4 separate regions of the Homo sapiens genome follow, and regions 2, 3 and 4 are each linked to region 1. Evidence: promoter capture Hi-C in human tissues and cell types (Jung and others, 2019). All regions are on one chromosome and are shown on one strand. Each heading gives the region's core, a stretch centred on a gene start or on the middle of the fragment in contact. The rest is flanking DNA. Distances are from core to core; before and after follow the strand shown.

Region 1 (2,522 bases), core at 11-2,510:
CGGGGATAATGAAAGTGGGTGGATTTCTGAGAGAAGGGGTCAGGGTTAGAGTTCTGTACTGCTAATTTTTTCCCCATTATCCATTCTCTCCTTCTTCTACAGTAATAGTTCCCTTATTTTTAGCTGGACACATTTACCAGCCTCTTGGTTGCTGGGTATATGACTGAGTTCTGACCAATAAAATGTGAGCCAAAGTGATATGTGCACCTTTCAGGTCATTGAAAAATATGGGCTGCCCTCTCTTTCCCCTTCATCCTACTAACCACTGGCTGGAAATGGAAATGGCCTTAGCCTAAAGAAGGAAGGGCAAATCCCTAAGGAGGAAAGGCAGAGGTGGAATTAGGACCAGTTGTCTTTCAACTATACCAGAGTTTTTCAAACTGTGGTCTTTGGGCTGATTGCATCAGAATCGCCAGTTACCTGATAAAAATGCAAATTACTGGGTCTTAGCAACTCAAATCTCTAGGATGGGTTCCAAGGATTTTTTTTTAGCTGGAGGCGGTGGTTCACGCCTGAAATCCCAGCACTTTGGGAGGCCGAGGAGGGAGGACTCCTTGAGCCCAGGAATTCGAGACCACCCTGGGCAACATAATGGGAACCCTGTCTCTGTTATTAAAAAAAATTATTACAGACGGCGCAGTGGCTCACGCATGTAATCCCAGCACGTTGGGAGGCCAAGGCCGGCAGATCACTTGACGTCAGGAGTTCGAGACTAACTTGATCAACACGGTGAAACCCTGTCTCTACTAAAAATACAAAAATTAGCAGGGTGTGGTGGCGGGCGCCTGTAGTCCCAGCTACTCGGGAGGCTGAGGCATGAGAATCACGTGAACCCGGGAGGAGGAGGCTGCAGTGAACCGAGATTGCGCCACTGCACTCCAGCCTGGGCGACAGAGCGAGACCATGTCTCAAAAAAAAAATTATTACTATATTTTAAAAATATTTTAAAGAATGTGTAGTTTTAACAGGGACTTCAGGAACTTGTGAGTTAAAACCACGGAACTACGTCAGACTACCTCAAAAATATCCCCAAATGTTTATAAACAAAGCCAAGGGCACGCACTCAGGCCCGGTGAGGTCCAGGAACTGTGCAAGAGGCCTCTGGCTCGGAGGGGCTGAAACAGGTGTCTCCGCGCGCTGGGGGAAGAGCGACTCTCCCGGCAACAGGTAGCACCCGCCAAATCCCGCGGGAACGGCCCTCGCGCCGCGCCCCCTGCCCCACCTCCGCTCGCGGTTGCCATGAAGACCCGGTCCGGGAGCAGTCGACTGCCGGAGACTCGGGAGGCTGAGCTTTCCTCGGCCTGAGCCAGCCAGACCCCGGGCACCGCGCTCACCCCTCTTCGCCGCCACGTCCGCGAAGGCCTCACGCGCGAGGCCAGGCGAGGCCCCGAGGCGCCCACCACTTCACGACACCGGAGCGAACCGGGCGCCAGAGGCTGCGACCCCCCTGCCCCGAATCCTGCCGGTGGGAGTGGCTGCATTTGAACCAAACGGCCTTCGCGGGCAGCAGCCGTCGCCCCGCAGTCCCGGGGCTCCCAAGGGCCTGTGACCGACGCCGCCCTCCGCGTCTTCGTCCCCGAAGCCCCGGGAACCATCCGCCCTCGGGGTAAGGGAGGAGTCGGGGGAGCCGGTGACTGGGCTGTGGGGACGCGGACGGGGCTCCGGGGGCAGCTCTGCCCCCAGACTGGCTTGAGGGAAGCCGTCGGTCTCCTTGGGGCTCTTCTCCCTCCGCCGCTGCACCCCTCCTCGCTTTTTTTTTTTTTTTTGAGCGTCCCAGGCTCGAAGTCTGGGACACTCAGATGGGACGGGAAATGCTCCCTCTTAGTCTTTAAGGCCACAACGAAGGGGGCCACCCACAGGGGTGCTGCAGAAAGAGTGATTTACTGCAATCACCTTCTCTCTTCACAGAGACCATGCTGCAGATGCGAGGAAAGCCGTTTCCTGGAACATCGGAATTCTAACCCCAGGGTGAAGGACTCACGACAGGCGAGGGGCAGACATGCTGAATTCCACGGGCGAACTGGAGTTTTCGAACGAAGAAGATCCCGAGATCATCTCCCAACTCACTTCCCTGCCTCTGTCCGGTGGGAAAAGCTCAGCTGGTGTGCCCGAAAAAACGGGCTATCCGGACTCCGTTTATGTCATGGCAGCCAACATTTTTCAGGGTATTCGAATCGAAAAGTCGGCACAGAAAGTCTTAATCAAGTATGGGAATGAACCCCTGCGGTCCTTGTCCGAGTCTGAGGATCAGTCCTTTCAGCGTTTGTCTTATGAGCTGGCTTTCAGTGCCCTGAAATGTGAGTTGTGCCAGTCTGGAAGATCAACACTAAAAGAAAATAATAGCGAGAGAATTTGGGGAATGCAGCCCTCCTCCTCCCTTCCCCTCATTCACACCAGGTTTTGGTTTTAGGCATGTGCATATCTTTGGTTAATTGCAAGTGTCAAGGAATTAGGGTTCCCATGAAACTAGCTCTTCCAGCCCAGGATTGCAGATTTCCCCGTGCACTGTGTTTGTCCTTAGA
Region 2 (2,522 bases), core at 17-2,516, 410 kb after region 1:
ATGGCAGTTTGGGCCCAGATGGAGCAACATGCAATGTGACATAGAGGACAGCTTGGGTAATGCCACAAGGCAGGGATGATTCCGGCAGATTTTAAAACAGCAGCAGCACAGGTGGGTAAAAGATCTGGGGGGAAAGAGTATGGTAATGATAGACCACATATCTGCTGAGAGATTTGAGAATCATCACGCATTTTTGAATAGGGGAATAGCCCTGGATCTGTATTCTAAAGCATTAGTGAGTGTATTAGAAGTGAGGATTCCAGTTTGGATTTCAATAATCCACCTGATGGGTCCCTGCACTAGGTCAACAAGAATGACCAAAGAAAGAAGGAAGTGACATGGTTTATCAACTGAATACCTGGGGCCAGGAGGCAGGAGGAGTAAAAGATAATATAAGCTGATTTTCAGCTTTCAGAGAAAGAAGATTACTTTCTTAAGGAAAAGAAAAATTATCCCTATAGTTCCTCAAGAAAATATATACACCTTTCAGATCATAAACAAGCGTCAGTCAAAAATTCTTGTCAACAGTGATAATGGGCATCCTGGACATCTTGACTTTAAGCTAAATTCAACAGATCCCAGGGAACACTGGACCAATCCACTTTCTTCAATATGTTCATAAATCTTATTTTGATTTCTCTGAGGCCTTCCATACTCTGGGCATGTGAGTCTGAGGCAAATGTGTATTTTCCACGTTAATTCTATTTTTTAGAAAATGAGAGAGAAAAAGAAATTCAAGTCTAAAAATTTTGAGATCACCTTTATACTCCAAAACCTCAAATAACATACTTCTACAGCTTTGTATTCAACCTACATGAAATATAAATGTTCTCTAACGTTTCAAAAACAAGGAACATAGATGGAAGGAAATTAATTATAAAGAAAAGTCTATAAGATCTATAAAGGCTGGGGTACCTTAAACAAAATGCTTGGGATCAGTAGAGTTTCGGATTTTGTATTTGGAAATATCTGCATAAGGAAGTATCTTGGAGATGGAGCCCAAGTCTAAACATGAAATTCATGTTTCATATATAACTTATACACATAGCCTAAAGGAAATTTTACACAATATTTTTAATAATTTTGTGCATGAAACAAAGTTTTGACTTTGGTTTGACCACAACCCGTCACATGAGGTCAGGTGTGAAATTTCCCTCTTGCGGCATCACAATGGCAGCTAAAAAGTTTTGGATTTTGGAGCACTTCAGATTTTCACATGAGGGGTACTCACCTTGTACACTGAGATAAAACGTAAGCAGTGTGCACATTACAATCTCTGAATCCACAACTGATTTTGAAAATATACACAAATAATTATCAGTAGTCTAGGACTACAGAGTTTCAAGACACTGACACAGGATGCAAAAGGCGGCTCCTTTGATTCAGAAGAGATCCCTAGATACATAATTTCCCTTTTATCTAAGAGACCACAATAGTTTCCCTTTGTACCAGACAGCACAAACCCAATTAAGTGTTTAATAGATACTTTCTGTGATAAGTCCCTTTGAAAAACAAAACAAAACAAAATCTTATATAGATTGCCTGAAAAAGTGAAGTAATATCACTTCTCGTTAAATGTTAACCTTTAAATAACTAAAACAGCTAGTTTATCCTCTGGACTTAAAACCCTACATCACACTAGCTTTAACATACATACAAAGGGTAAATTCCAGTTGTTCTAAGAGCCAATAGAAGGTTATGACTTAAGAGGTTGATTCTTTTAATTTAGAAATAGTCCTAAGTGATCTTTTAAACATGGCTGTTTTTTAGAGGGCTAGACTAAATCCAGGTGTTTAAGTACATATTAAAATTAACATAGAGTCCATCTTCAGGGAATAATTCTGGATTTCACTTTTTTTAAGCTTTTATTTTACAAAGGGCTTTAAGTGAGAATATTTTCCCTTTAGCCCCATTTGCAGAGAGATTCACCATCACAGCAATAAACCACTTCCCAAAGCCATGAACCCTCTAACACTTCCCTCACAAAAACAGCGATTATTTTATATTTTATTTGACCATTTGAGATGTCCGCAAGGCACCCATGTGGGAGAGACAGTTAGAATCCAAAGAACCCCAGGTGTGCCATTGTAGCGGTGTAGCAAGTCACTTAACTGTTTCCTCACTGCACAGGAGGGTCCTAAGAGTACCCGTCTTTCAAGGATGCTACAAGGACTATCTTGGATTCTCTGATCCTCCAACACAAATTGGGCATCTTACCATCCAATGCTACTCTCACACGAACTACCCACAAGGAGTCAGAGGCCACAGGTAGAAGGGCTCAGTACCACAAGACTGCCCTCACCCAGGGGCCACCATGAGTACTACATCCCTAGGTTACCCATGTAACCAAGTACCCCGATAGTTCTCAGAATCGGTTTTTTCTCTCTCTCTTCTTATCTCTTTCCTCTGTTTCCTCACTTCCTACTTAGCTCTTTAGTAATGCAATTATAGCCTTTTACCTCATCTTCACCAGATACTCCCTACAGCAAGTTCATCTAACTATGTGCTTAGCAATTCCAGAG
Region 3 (2,522 bases), core at 12-2,511, 370 kb before region 1:
ACTGCCCACTAAAGCAGATAAGGCTGCAGTGACCAAAGACTTGGACCACAACACCCAAGACCCTTCACATACCTGGAAAGCCTTCTGAAGAAGGATGGGTAGAAATAAGCCCAGACTGTGAAGACTACAATAGATACCTCACTCTTCAATGCCCAAACATTAATGAACATCTACAAGCATCAAGATCATCCAGGAAAACATGACTTTACCAAATGATCTAAATAAGACACCAGTGACTAATCCCGGAGACACAGAGATGTGTGACCTTTTGGATAGAGAATTCAAAAGAGTTGTTTTGAGGAAGCTCAACTAAATCCAAGATAACACAGAGAACAAATTCAGAATCCTATCAGATAAGTTTAACAAAGAGGTTAACATAATTGGAAAGAGTCGAGCAGAAATTCTGGAGCTGAAAAATGCAATTGACATGTGGAAGAATGCATCAGTGTCTCTTAACAGCAGAATTCATCAAGCAGAAGAAAGAATTAGTGAGCCTGAAGACAGGCTATTTGAAAATACAGTCAGAGGAGACAAAAGAAAAAAGAATAAAAAACAATGAAGCGTGCTTACGAGATCTAGAAAATAGGTCCAAAGGGGCAAATCTAAGGTTATTGGCCTTAAAGAGGAGGTAGAGAGAGAGAGATCAGGGTAGAAAGTTTATTCAAAGAATTAATAAAACAGAATGTCCCAAACCTAGAGGAATATATCAATATTCAAGTACAAGAAGGTTATAGAACACCAAGAAGATTTAACGACAAGAGGACTACCTCAAGGCATTTAATAATCAAATTCCTGAAGGTCAAGGATAAAGAAAGGATCCTAAATGCAGCAAGAGAAAATAAATAATAATATACAAAGGAACTCCAATACATCTGGCTGTAGACTCTCAGTGGAAGCTTCACAGGCCAGGAGAGAGTGGCATGACACATTTAAAGTGCTGAAGGAGGGCCAGGTGCAGTGGTTCACGCCTGTAATCCCAGCACTTTGGGAGGCTGAGGCCGGTGGAACACTCGAGATCAGGAGTTCAAGGCTAGCCTGGCTAACATGGTGAAACCCCGTCTCTACTAAAAATACAAAAATTAGCCAGATGTGGTGTGCATACTTGTAATACCAGATACTTGGAAGGCTGAGGCAGGAGAACCACTTGAACCCAGGAGGCAGAGATTGCAGTGACCTGAGATCGTGCCACTGCACTCCAGCCTGGGTGACAGAGCAAGACTCTGTCTCAAAAAAAAAAAAAAAAAAAGTAAATAAATAAATAAATAAAGTGCTGAAGGAAAAAACAAAAACAAAAACTTTTATCCTAGAATAGTATATCCAGAAAAAATATCCTTTAAACATGAAGGACAAATAAAGATTTTCCTAGACAAACAAAAGCTGAGGAATTTCATCAACACCAAACCTGTCCTACAAGACATGCTACAAGGAATTCTTCTATATGAAAGAAAAGGATGATGTTAATGAGAATAAGAAATCATCTAAAAGTAGAAAACTCACTAGTAATAGTAAGTACACAGAAAAACACAGTATAACCGTATAACCCTGTAACTGTAGTGTGTAAAAACTACTCCTATCTTGAGTAGAAAGACTGAAAGGTGAACCCGTCAAAAATAATAACTACAACAACTTTTCAAGAATTAGACAGTATAACAAGATATAAATAGAAGCAACAAAAAGTTAAAAAGTGGGGGATAAAGTTAGAGTAAAACATTTGTAATAGTTTTTGTTTGTTAGTTTGTTTATGCAATCAGTGTTAAGTTGTCATCAGTTTAAAATAATGGGTTATAAGATATTATTTATTTGCAAGCCTCCTGGTAACCTCAAATCAAAAAACATACAATAAAAAACAATAGGCCTGGAGCGTTGGCTCATGCCTGTAATTCCAGCACTTTGGGAGGCTGAGACAGGTGGATCACTTGAGGTCAGAAGTTCAAGACCAGCCTGGCCAACATGGTGAAACCCTGTCTCTACTAAAAATACAAAAATTAGCCAGGTGTGGTGGTAGGTGCCTGTAATCCCAGCTACTTGGGAGGCTGAGGCACAAGAATTGCTTGAACCTGGGAGGTGGAGGTTGCAGTGAGCCGAGATTGTGCCACTGCACTCCAGCCTGAGCAACAAAGTGAGACTCAGTCTCAAAAACAAAAACAAACAGAAAAAAAAACCAACAAAAACCCAATATATTAAAACATACCACTTAAGAAAATCACCTTCACCAAAAAGTAGACAGGAAGAATGGAAAGAAGGAAGAAAAGAAACCACAAAACAACCAGAAAACAACAAAATGACAAGAGTAAGTCCTTACTTATCAATAATAACATTGACAGTAAATGGACTAAACTCTTTAATCAAAAGACATAGAGTGGCTGCAGAGATTAAAACAAAAACATGACCCAGCGATGTGTTGCCTATAAGAAGCACACTTCACCTATAATGACACATGTAGACTGAAAATAAAGGAATGGAAAAAGATATTCCATGCAAATGAAAACCAAAAAGAGCAGGAGTGTCTACACTTACACCAG
Region 4 (2,522 bases), core at 12-2,511, 350 kb before region 1:
TGGGGCGAGGTGAGGACACAGGGGGAAAATAAGAGGGAACCCAGGCAGGTGCTATGCCAGCTGAAGGCTCCAGTCATGGGCGCCAGCTGAACCCATAGGGTTCAGGACCTGCACAAAGCCAAGGTGCCTTCTTCCCCTTGATGATGCCATGAGCCATAGGTTCACACACCTTCTGATGAGGGATGGGGGAGGAGGCAGCAGAAACCAGAGACCCTAAGCAGGACCCAAAGGGACCAATTAAACTGTTGATTTGAACTAAGGTTTAAGCTGAACTGGGCATTTAGCTCTATTTCTTCTCTTTACCTAGCAAATAACAAATGAGATGACAACACAAAATATTTTCCCTGCACATCCAAGCTGTATGGTGAGCATATTTAAGTCTGCCACTGTGTATTTCAATAAAAGAAAATTAGCTGTTCTATCAGGCCCAGTGGTTTCAGGTCTTTTAACTTTTCTTCTTATTTTACCTTCTTGGTTCGAATTGCTAACCTCTATGTAGTTTCTGAATGTTCATATCCCTCTGAAATACCAGAGTATGTTCTCTTCTTCTCCCTCCTCCTCAACATCAGCAACAACAAAAAGAAGCAGGAAAGTGTCGCTGTTCCTGGGTTGAATTGTGTCCCCCAAAATTCATGCATTGATTTAGAGATAGGACCTTTAAAGAGGTAACTAAGTTAAAATAGACATTAGGGTGGTCCCTAATCCAATCTGACTGGTGTCCTTATAAGAGGAGACAGGGGGCCGATCATGGTGGCGCATCCCTATAATCCCAACACTTTGGGAGGCCAAGGTGGGCAGATCACTTGAGCTCACGAGTTTAAGACCAGCCTGAGCAACATTGTGAGATCCCCGTCTCTACAAAAAATACAAAAATTAGCCAGGCGTGGTGGTATATGCTCCTATAGTCCGAGCTACTCAGGAGGCTGAGGCAGGAGGATCACTTGAGTCCAAGAGGTCGAGGCTTCAGTGAGCAGAGATCACGCCACTGCACTCCAGCCTAGGTGACAGAGAGAGACCCTATCTCAAAAAAACAAAAAACAAAACAAACAAACAAACAAAAATGCCAGGGATGCACGCACAGTGCACGCAGAGAAAAGACCAGGTGAACAGGCATCAAAAAGGCAGCCGCAAGCCAAGGAGAGAGGCCTCAGAAAAAACCAAACGTGCCAATACCTTGACCTCACACTTCCAGCCTCCAGAACTATGAGAGTAAATTTCTGTTGTTGAAGTCACCCAGTCTGTAGTGTTTTGTTATGGCAGCCCTGGAAAACCAATAAACTCACCTTTCTTTGTTTTTGCTCAGGTAACAGAATTGTGCCAGTGAGTGCCGCCATGGCTAAACAGAGCCACACCTGGGCAACATGGTGTCTCTACCAAAAATACAAAACTTAGCCGGGCGTGATGGCATGTGTCCGCAGTTCCAGCTACTCAGGAGGCTGAGGTGGGAGGATCGCTTGAGCCTGGCAGGTCAAGGCTGCAGTGAGCCACCGCGCCTGGCCTTTTTATGTATTTTTTTTTTGAGGGGTAGGCATGAAATTAGCAGCACAAAATGAGAGACGGTATAAAAACTGAAACGTGATCCCCGAAAGTTTATCACAGTACAAGCTGAGAAGAGAAAACGTCAGGAAGTTTGTCATTTAGCAGAGTCCTTCCAGCTGCAAGGGCGACAGAAACTCTGTGACTTGTCAGCCAAAGGCCTGGGGTCTTGCGAATGTTCCTAATGAGCGGTGCTTTCTACCAGCTGGAAACCAGCTGCTTAACTGACATCTGGAAATGACTAATGGAAATTAGGGGAGGCCCCAAAAGAAATCAGGCTCTGGGAAAACACGGATTATAGAAACCCTACACATTTCTAGGATTATTATATTCTAGAAATACATAGAATACATATATACATATAATACATTGTATGTATTTCATATGTGTATGTATATGTATGTACATATATGTACACGTATATGTATGTACATATATGCACACGTATATGTATGTACATATATGCACACGTATATGTATGTACATATATGCACACGTATATGTATGTACATATATGTACACGTATATGTATTACATATATGCACACGTATATGTATGTACATATATGTACACGTATATGTATGTACATATATGTACACGTATATGTATGTACATATATGTACACGTATATGTATTACATATAATCCTGGGTTTTACTGTTTATTTATTTATTTTTTAGTTTCAGTTTTTTGAGACAACATCTCTCCCTGTCACCCAGGCTAGAGTACAGTGGTGCAATCTTGGCTCACTGCAGCCTCCGCCTTAGGGGTTCAAGGGACTCTGGTGCCTCAGTCTTCCAAGTAGCTGGGAATACAGGTGCGCACCAGCACGCCTGGGTAATTTTTGTACAAATTTTTAGTAGAGATGGGGTTTTGCCATGTTGGCCAGGCTGGTCTGGAACTCCTGGCCTCAAGTGATCTGCCACCTGGCCTCAAGTGATCTGCCCACCTCAGCCTCTCAAAGAGCTGGGATTACAGGCATGAGGC

Evidence for each region. Contacts are between HindIII fragments. The study calls those that stand out against the background at their distance.
Region 2: a fragment that was not itself captured here is called in contact with the fragment with the promoter of NSUN7 in region 1 in 1 of the 25 tissues and cell types used here (dorsolateral prefrontal cortex).
Region 3: a fragment that was not itself captured here is called in contact with the fragment with the promoter of NSUN7 in region 1 in 1 of the 25 tissues and cell types used here (mesenchymal stem cells).
Region 4: a contact is called between a fragment that was not itself captured here and the fragment with the promoter of NSUN7 in region 1, in 1 of the 25 tissues and cell types used here (lymphoblastoid cells).

Annotation. Positions count from the first base shown.
Region 1 is chr4:40,748,695-40,751,216 of GRCh38, forward strand. NSUN7 (NOP2/Sun RNA methyltransferase family member 7) reads left to right here and starts at 1,261. Exons shown (of 12, transcript NM_024677.6): 1 at 1,261-1,606; 2 at 1,909-2,297. The coding sequence starts at 2,000. The HindIII fragment of the contact is 15,367 bases long and covers 1-2,522 here.
Region 2 is chr4:41,163,100-41,165,621 of GRCh38, forward strand. The region is part of intron 1 of APBB2 (amyloid beta precursor protein binding family B member 2); the gene reads right to left. Among named protein-coding and RNA genes, the nearest start is that of APBB2, 50 kb to the right of the region's middle. The HindIII fragment of the contact is 4,001 bases long and covers 1-2,522 here.
Region 3 is chr4:40,381,097-40,383,618 of GRCh38, forward strand. No RefSeq gene overlaps it. Among named protein-coding and RNA genes, the nearest start is that of RBM47-AS1, 44 kb to the right of the region's middle. The HindIII fragment of the contact is 5,805 bases long and covers 1-2,522 here.
Region 4 is chr4:40,400,134-40,402,655 of GRCh38, forward strand. No RefSeq gene overlaps it. Among named protein-coding and RNA genes, the nearest start is that of RBM47-AS1, 25 kb to the right of the region's middle. The HindIII fragment of the contact is 5,760 bases long and covers 1-2,522 here.